Linked DNA regions of Homo sapiens: region 1 is linked to region 2. The links are contacts of gene promoters, found by promoter capture Hi-C in blood cells and fetal thymus (Javierre and others, 2016). All regions are on one chromosome and are shown on one strand. The core of a region is centred on a gene start or on the middle of the fragment in contact, and the rest is flanking DNA. Distances in the headings are between cores, read along the strand shown.

What was found. Contacts are between HindIII fragments. The CHiCAGO score rates a contact against its expected background, and 5 or more counts as called.
Region 1: a contact is called between a fragment that was not itself captured here and the fragment with the promoter of PTGS2 in region 2, in 2 of 17 cell types (neutrophils and monocytes). The highest score is 6.5, in neutrophils.

What each region holds. Positions count from the first base shown.
Region 1 is chr1:186,622,241-186,626,885 of GRCh38, reverse strand. No RefSeq gene overlaps it. Among named protein-coding and RNA genes, the nearest start is that of PTGS2, 56 kb to the left of the region's middle. The HindIII fragment of the contact is 9,391 bases long and covers 1-4,645 here.
Region 2 is chr1:186,677,133-186,681,694 of GRCh38, reverse strand. It overlaps PTGS2 (prostaglandin-endoperoxide synthase 2), which reads left to right and starts at 1,272. Exons shown (of 10, transcript NM_000963.4): 1 at 1,272-1,456; 2 at 2,257-2,373; 3 at 2,494-2,637; 4 at 3,291-3,434; 5 at 3,865-4,046. The coding sequence starts at 1,405. PACERR (PTGS2 antisense NFKB1 complex-mediated expression regulator RNA) reads right to left here and starts at 1,041. Exons shown (of 1, transcript NR_125801.1): 1 at 249-1,041. RefSeq lists an enhancer at 2,922-4,121. The HindIII fragment of the contact is 7,534 bases long and covers 1-2,027 here.

The DNA.
Region 1 (4,645 bases), core at 1,861-4,360, 57 kb after region 2:
AGAGAAAACTTGAAAATAACTGCAGGTGAGTTCAGAGACCTGGAGTCACAGCACTGAGATATAACTATTATTCATTGGTTTAGACTATGTTTAGAATTTGTGTTTATTAATATCTCTTTGTCACTAAGACAACTAAGAAACAAAGCTATGCTGAACCACAGAGTCAAGCTGGGCAAGCAGATAAGAGAATTGCAGAAGCTCAGTTGAAAAAAGACACAGATTCAAAAGAAACTTGCTTAGAATTTTATTTTTGACATGGCTACAGAGGAAGGAAAGGAAAGAAAAGAAGGGAGGGATTTGTGACGAAAAGGGCTTTCCAGAAAAGCAGCGTTTCAGTGCAGTGTTTCCCACTGTTCCGAGAAACAATAACTAAAGTCCTTCCCAAATCTGTGACTCCTGTGATCAAAAAAAAAAAAAAATTTGATCAAACTGTTTCTTTAACTTTGTTGCTTGAATTTTGACTAATTTTGATTACAACCCAGATATGAGTTGGTTGTAATTAATATAATTTGTTTAAGATTAAAGTGAATTAATTAATTGCTTTCTTTTTCATTTTTAAACCAACCTACCTACTGTTGGCTGAAATTTAGCAGTCTTCACATCTAATTTCAGTGGCTCTGTCCTCTACTGAGCTTTAAATCTCAGGTCAACTCACTGTTGATGGCATCACATAGGCCAAGGACAAAATTCAGAGAGGTCAGATATGTTCCTTTAAACATGTATTCCAAATTATAGAGAAGAATCCCTGATGTATCAAAAATGGTAATAACTGAGGAAAGCAGAAATAGAAGAAAATATTTTGATATGGCAGTTTTGACACAGTAATAAGAATTTTAGGTTGAATTTTGAGAAAACTTTAAAAATACAATTAAAAAATTATTCAATAACATACCACAAACACCTTCATCTTTACACATATCTAAACTTCATTCTTGATTTTCACCATTAAGATATAGGTTAAGTTTGTGAAATGCAGTGAAGCTCAGGAATGGGGTAGGGTCAGGATTAGGGTGGGGATCAAAGGAAGTTCTACTTGGGAAGAGTAGGAGTGACTAAGTGTGTCTCAGGGATAGAGTAAATCTCAGGGATGAAGGGGATCAGGGATGGACTGAGGGTAAGCTAACATGTATGTGAATCTATATGGAAACCATTACCCACATGGTTCAGTCAGGAGTTTTACATTCAAAGAAGAGCAGAAAAATAAGAATTTTGATTTTTCTTTATGTTGTTCCCCCAGGTCATCAGGAGAAACCCAAGTACGTAAGTCTACAATAACTCATTAAATTTCAATTTCTGGCCAGGCGCGGTGGCTCATTGCCTATAAGCCCGGCATTTTGGGAGGCCAAGACAGGCGGATTACTTGAGGTCAGGAGTTCGAGACCAGCCTGGCCAAAACATGGTGAAACCCTGTCTCTACTGAAAATACGAAAATTAGCCGGGCGTGGTGGCACTTGCCTGTAATCCCAGCTACTGGGGAGGCTGAGGCAGGGAAATTGCTTGAACCCGGGAGACGGAGGTTGCAGTGGGCAGAGATCGCGTCATTGCACTCCTGCCTGGGTGAAGAAGTGAGACTCCCTAACACGGTGAAACCCCGTCTCTACTAAAAATACAAAAAATTAGCTGGGCGTGGTGTCGGGCGCCTGTAGTCCCAGCCGCTCCGGAGGCTAAGGCAGGAGAAAGACGTGAACCCGGGAGGTGGAGCTTGCAGTGAGCCGAGATCCCACCACTGCACTCCAGCCTGGGCGACAGAGCGAGACTCCGTCTCAAAAAATAAATAAATAAATAAAAAATAAAGAAGTGAGACTCCGTCTCAAAAACAAACAATCAAAAAAAAATCCAATTTCTGTCCTTTTCAGTTCTCCAACACCCTGAAAATCCCAGATGGTTATCACTTTCCTCCTACCCAGGATGACTCTTTTTCTCAAAAGTATTACTCTGTTCCCCAGATCTCCCTGATCACATCTCTCATTTCTGCACCTAAAACTTCCACGTCTTGCTAATAATATGTCGCATGTTCAGATATTGCCAAGCCCCTGAAGAGTTTAGCTTATCTTCCTTTTTTACTCCTTTTCCTAAATAATAATTGTTTAAAAATAGTCTGTGACATTTATTCTTGCTACTTTTTCCCAGATTCCAGGATTCTGCATAACACTCTTCAGAATCACAGTGGGTGTGACAGAACCTCCTTCTGTATAGATGAAGTGGGCACAGCCTAAGAACAGTCATATATTAATAATTCTTGTCGGCCGGGCGTGTTGGCTCACGCCTGTAATTCCAGCACTTTCGGAGGCCGAGGCGGGCGGATCACAAGGTCAGGAGATCGAGACCATCCTGTGAATGGTGAAACCGTGTCTCTACTAAAAAAAAAATACAAAAAATTAGCCGGGCGTGGTCGCGGACGCCTTGTAGTCCCAGCTACTCGGGAGGCTGAGGCGGGAGAATGGCGTGAACCCAGGAGGCGGAGCTTGCAATGAGCTGAGATTGCGCCACTGCACTCCAGCCTGGGCGACAGAGCGAGACTCCGTCTCAAAAAAAAAAAAAAAAAAAAAACTACTACTACTACTACTAATAATAATTCTTGTCCAGTCACCCATAAATTACAGTAATAATTAAAATATCAACATTTAAATATTTTAGCTGCAAAATAAGTATGAAAATCAATATATCCATGACAACCTAAATAATGATCATGTCGAAATGTCACTACTCCAGTGAAGAGGCCAAAAGTAAAAATCCATTTAAAAGCTGGAATAAATTTATTTCTTTATGCCACATAATAATGGACGCTTAACACTTAAGAAGACTCAAAACTTCTGACACAGAGAGGGCTGTAAAAATGTTTATTCTCGTCATAAAGGTATTACCTTGTGCCCCAAATTTGCTAATGTGCTCAATCTTAAATACAAGTCTAAATGTCATATTCTTTTTAGGTACTTTGTAATAGCAATACTTCAAATCCATCACCAAATTCTATACTAATCGGCTTTGCTGAGGTGATAAAACAACTCAAACCAAGTGGCTTACAACAACAAACATTAAATTTTCCTCATGGTCCATGTCAGGACCAGTAGGTCATCTGCAAGGGCTCTGTTCCTCATCTTCCTCTCATAGGACCCAGGATTACAGTGCGGTCCCTATTGGGGCATGCATCCTCCTGGCAGGAAGTTGGTGGATACACGCAATGATTCATAAACCTTCTTCTTCTTTTTTTTTTTTTTTTGAGATGGAGTTTTGTTCTTGTCGCCCAGGCTGGAGTGCAATGGCACAATCTCAGCTTACTGCAACCTCCGCCTCCTGGGTTCCAGCGATTTCTCCTGCCTCAGCCTCCTGAGTAGCTGAGACTACAGGCACCCACCAACACGCCTGGCTAATTGTAGAGACAGGGTTTCACCATGATGGCCAGGCTGGTCTCAAACTCCTGACCTCAGGTGATCTGCCTGCCTCAGCTTCCCAAAGTGCTGGGATTATAGATATGAGCCACTGTGCTTGGCATATCACCTTGTCTTAGTCTATTTGTGCTGTGCAACAAAATACCCAAGACTGGTATAAACAATAGAAATTAATTTTCTTGCAGATCTGGATTCTAGGACATAATTCTCTCCTGCATCTTCTCTGGCCTCCCCTTCTGTGTGCTTCCCATGCTCTCCTTCCTTTTCACCTTGGAAAGTGCTGTGGCCCAACTGAGTGCTGTCCTTGGCCACTATCGTCTTCCTGCTGTTTGTGGTCAGCCTGTATTCTCTCGCCCACGACTTCAATTGTTTACTGAGTGAAGATAATTCTGCAGTGTGATTCTAACCTAGATCTTGCTCCTCACCTTCGAACTTGTGAGTCCCTATTAGACATTTTCTAAAATATTCCATGTTTCCTTGCACCTCCAGAACTTTACAATCCTGTTCTTTCAGTCCAAAAGATCCTTCACCTTCTACAGTCTAATCCTTATTCAGACTGTAATATTTAACGCAAGTAGGCCAGGCGCGGTGGCTCACGCCTGTAATCCCAGCACTTTGAGAGTCCCAGGCGGGCGGATCACGAGGTCGGGATATCGAGCCCATCCTGGCTAACATGGTGAAACCCCATCTCTACTAAAAACATAAAAAAATTAGCCGGGCGTGGTGGCGGGCGCCTGTAGTCCCAGCTACTTGGGAGGCTGAGGCAGGAGAATGGCGTGAACCCAGCAGGCGGAGCTTGCAGTGAGCCAAGATCACTCCACTGCACTCCAGCCTGGGCGACAGAGTGAGACTCCGTCTCAAAAAAGGTAAATAAATATCCAAGTATTCCCTCTCTGGAAAGCTCTCTCCAACATCCTATTGTGAGCTGGCAACCTCTTCTGTAGAGTCCTGTGCATGGCCCCATTATGGCACCCATTGCCCTGTACTGTCATTGTTAGATTGTTTGCTTCTCACCTGTATTAGAAACTCAGCTCCTTTAACAAAAATACAGTGATTTGTCTTTGTATATATAGCAACAGTTCTATGTCTAGCATATAGCAGATACCGAATAATGTTTTTAAATGATAGATTGAATAAAGAATAAGTATATTTGTGAGAGATAGGTGGGATTCTTTTGAGTCAGGAGATAAGTTTGGAAACAGAAAAGGATGAGTTATGGTATGTCTTTTTTTCCTCCAAAAAGTTCAAGGCAACAG
Region 2 (4,562 bases), core at 23-2,522:
GTATCTCACCCTCACATGCTCCTCCCTGAGCACTACCCATGATAGATGTTAAACAAAAGCAAAGATGAAATTCCAACTGTCAAAATCTCCCTTCCATCTAATTAATTCCTCATCCAACTATGTTCCAAAACGAGAATAGAAAATTAGCCCCAATAAGCCCAGGCAACTGAAAAGTAAATGCTATGTTGTACTTTGATCCATGGTCACAACTCATAATCTTGGAAAAGTGGACAGAAAAGACAAAAGAGTGAACTTTAAAACTCGAATTTATTTTACCAGTATCTCCTATGAAGGGCTAGTAACCAAAATAATCCACGCATCAGGGAGAGAAATGCCTTAAGGCATACGTTTTGGACATTTAGCGTCCCTGCAAATTCTGGCCATCGCCGCTTCCTTTGTCCATCAGAAGGCAGGAAACTTTATATTGGTGACCCGTGGAGCTCACATTAACTATTTACAGGGTAACTGCTTAGGACCAGTATTATGAGGAGAATTTACCTTTCCCGCCTCTCTTTCCAAGAAACAAGGAGGGGGTGAAGGTACGGAGAACAGTATTTCTTCTGTTGAAAGCAACTTAGCTACAAAGATAAATTACAGCTATGTACACTGAAGGTAGCTATTTCATTCCACAAAATAAGAGTTTTTTAAAAAGCTATGTATGTATGTGCTGCATATAGAGCAGATATACAGCCTATTAAGCGTCGTCACTAAAACATAAAACATGTCAGCCTTTCTTAACCTTACTCGCCCCAGTCTGTCCCGACGTGACTTCCTCGACCCTCTAAAGACGTACAGACCAGACACGGCGGCGGCGGCGGGAGAGGGGATTCCCTGCGCCCCCGGACCTCAGGGCCGCTCAGATTCCTGGAGAGGAAGCCAAGTGTCCTTCTGCCCTCCCCCGGTATCCCATCCAAGGCGATCAGTCCAGAACTGGCTCTCGGAAGCGCTCGGGCAAAGACTGCGAAGAAGAAAAGACATCTGGCGGAAACCTGTGCGCCTGGGGCGGTGGAACTCGGGGAGGAGAGGGAGGGATCAGACAGGAGAGTGGGGACTACCCCCTCTGCTCCCAAATTGGGGCAGCTTCCTGGGTTTCCGATTTTCTCATTTCCGTGGGTAAAAAACCCTGCCCCCACCGGGCTTACGCAATTTTTTTAAGGGGAGAGGAGGGAAAAATTTGTGGGGGGTACGAAAAGGCGGAAAGAAACAGTCATTTCGTCACATGGGCTTGGTTTTCAGTCTTATAAAAAGGAAGGTTCTCTCGGTTAGCGACCAATTGTCATACGACTTGCAGTGAGCGTCAGGAGCACGTCCAGGAACTCCTCAGCAGCGCCTCCTTCAGCTCCACAGCCAGACGCCCTCAGACAGCAAAGCCTACCCCCGCGCCGCGCCCTGCCCGCCGCTGCGATGCTCGCCCGCGCCCTGCTGCTGTGCGCGGTCCTGGCGCTCAGCCATACAGGTGAGTACCTGGCGCCGCGCACCGGGGACTCCGGTTCCACGCACCCGGGCAGAGTTTCCGCTCTGACCTCCTGGGTCTATCCCAGTACTCCGACTTCTCTCCGAATAGAGAAGCTACGTGACTTGGGAAAGAGCTTGGACCGCTAGAGTTCGAAAGAACTCCGTGGATATTCCAGCTTTCCCACAAGCACTGATCATTATGAGCCAGTTACTTAACCGATCTGAGACACTCTCACCTCCTAAATAGGGATAGATGATACTAATTTGCAGGTTGTCATTATGATAAGACAGGATCTGATCAATATATGTGAATTGTTTATATTTGGAACCTTTTTATTGAGTGGAAGAAGTTGTTTTAAATATTCTAGTCAGTTCTTTCCTGCTCCCAGGAAAGCCCGGATTATGTTTTAAGATAAGCAAAATGTCTTAAAAGTAAGCTGTTTTACTTTGAATTTTTCCCTAAATGTTGATTAGTGTACTAGATCCATTTTAATTTGGAAAGTGAAGTGCTACTTATTTGAACTTCTTAAAAATGCTAATTTTAACATCTAAAGAGTTAACTAAGAAAAGCTTAGTAACATGATGTACCAAGTTGAATATGCTGTTATCCTTATTTAGAATAGAAAATTGGTATTTCTACGTTTTATCCATTCTAAGGCAGGTTAAAAAATTGTATTTCCATGACTACCTATATATTTCTTGAATTTATTATTGTAAAGTTGATTCATAGTCAAACAATTAAATGTTTAAATTAAGATTAAGACACTAGAGAATGATTTATTTGCTGTCCTTTAATTGCAGCAAATCCTTGCTGTTCCCACCCATGTCAAAACCGAGGTGTATGTATGAGTGTGGGATTTGACCAGTATAAGTGCGATTGTACCCGGACAGGATTCTATGGAGAAAACTGCTCAACACGTAAGTTTGTCCTTTGGTTGCCTCATTAGGAGTGGGGCTGGATACAGTTATCATTGTATAGATTTGTGTCTTATAATGAGTCCCATTAATTTCTCCCTCCCTTTCTTCGTCTTCTTGCAGCGGAATTTTTGACAAGAATAAAATTATTTCTGAAACCCACTCCAAACACAGTGCACTACATACTTACCCACTTCAAGGGATTTTGGAACGTTGTGAATAACATTCCCTTCCTTCGAAATGCAATTATGAGTTATGTGTTGACATGTAAGTACAAGTGTCTTTCTAAGGTTTTTAGCCTTCTCAAAGAAAAATATGCTTTATAATACTGTAAGCCTAATCTAAAAACATATTTCCAAGCTTATCAAAAAGACTTTAAGATAGCTTTTAAGTTTGCCTTCCATCTTAATCGCCAAAAATATTGACATTTAGTCCCATCCAGTTTATACAGTCTGCTCACAACTCTGTATACCTCTTCTAACCTTTACTGTTTGGTCAGTTTGTGGAGGTAGCATGGTCCAGCTGTTTATTGAATGCCCATGGGCCACAGAATTGTTCTGAACATGTAGCACCCATTAAAATAAATTTGGATTTGGATCAGCAAGAAAATAACTTTCCATGATTCTAAAGTGGGTGCCATACTCAGCCATTCCTTTCATAGGCCTCTTGGATAGTGAGCAGATGGCTACCTGAAAAATCAATATTGCCAGATTATAATGTGCAGAGTATATGTATTTTATTAAAGATGTATTTCAAGTGGCCATTAGACTATAAAGTGTAGTTGTTTAAAAATAGATTTTTTTTATTTTGGAGTTACATTCAACCTCAGGTGCCACTTTCCACATTTTACAATAAAAATAATGGTTGATTTACTTAACAAATGAGAATAAATAAAACATTTTTTTCTTTGAAAATTTCAGCCAGATCACATTTGATTGACAGTCCACCAACTTACAATGCTGACTATGGCTACAAAAGCTGGGAAGCCTTCTCTAACCTCTCCTATTATACTAGAGCCCTTCCTCCTGTGCCTGATGATTGCCCGACTCCCTTGGGTGTCAAAGGTGAGTAAGAAGAATCCATTAGAGATGTATTAACTATAAGACGGGCTGCATTGCTGCCAAAAAAAAAAATTGACCTTAGACTACCATTTATTTATTAACAAAAGCAGTTTTTACTTTTAGCATGGTTATCTATGGGTATTTTTTAAAGTATGAGTCTATATAAACTATTATGTAAAAGCAAATGAGCGTCTTGGTATAATGTCTTAATATTTTCAAATTATTTCTTTAGAAATGAAATAATTCTAATTAAAATAGATAAAATCATTCAGTAAGAAGTTGTTCCACCATATCTTAGAACTGTTGTTTATATTATGATCCTATTCACAATTGTAATTCTCATATAAATGAAGAATTCTTGGTAGATTGACAGTCACCATCTCCTTTCTTGAATACATAGATGGATTCTTACCTTAGCTTTCTCATTTTTCAGGTAAAAAGCAGCTTCCTGATTCAAATGAGATTGTGGAAAAATTGCTTCTAAGAAGAAAGTTCATCCCTGATCCCCAGGGCTCAAACATGATGTTTGCATTCTTTGCCCAGCACTTCACGCATCAGTTTTTCAAGACAGATCATAAGCGAGGGCCAGCTTTCACCAACGGGCTGGGCCATGGGGTAAGATAGAGTTAATATCTTAGAGTTAGTAAAATTATACCAAATCATAGTCAAGGGCTAACATTAAAGGAGATATACAGATAGATAGATCCAAATAACTTATCCACTTTTTTTAAAAAGAAGTCTTATCTATAAAAACCTTAAAGGAATTTTCCATTTACTTCACTGGTCTAGTAAAATTATACACACACACAGACATGCACACACATATATAAACATTCACACACATACATATGTACAGGTATTGTTATTTGTAATTTGACCCTTGTATTTTTTAGTTTAAAATGTTAGTACTGCAAAATGTTATGTCCTCAAAAACACATTGTACCATGATTATGCCGCTTTCAATATTGTAAAGTGAGGTTTTTGCCGCATTATTATTTTTTGGATTTCAATAGCATAGCTTCAAGTTATTCGTAAGAATTTTTTATAAATAATACATTTTTATACTTTTTTATAATTACCATATCATCATAGTGAAGTATATAATATATATGATATAAGCTCAATATAGTA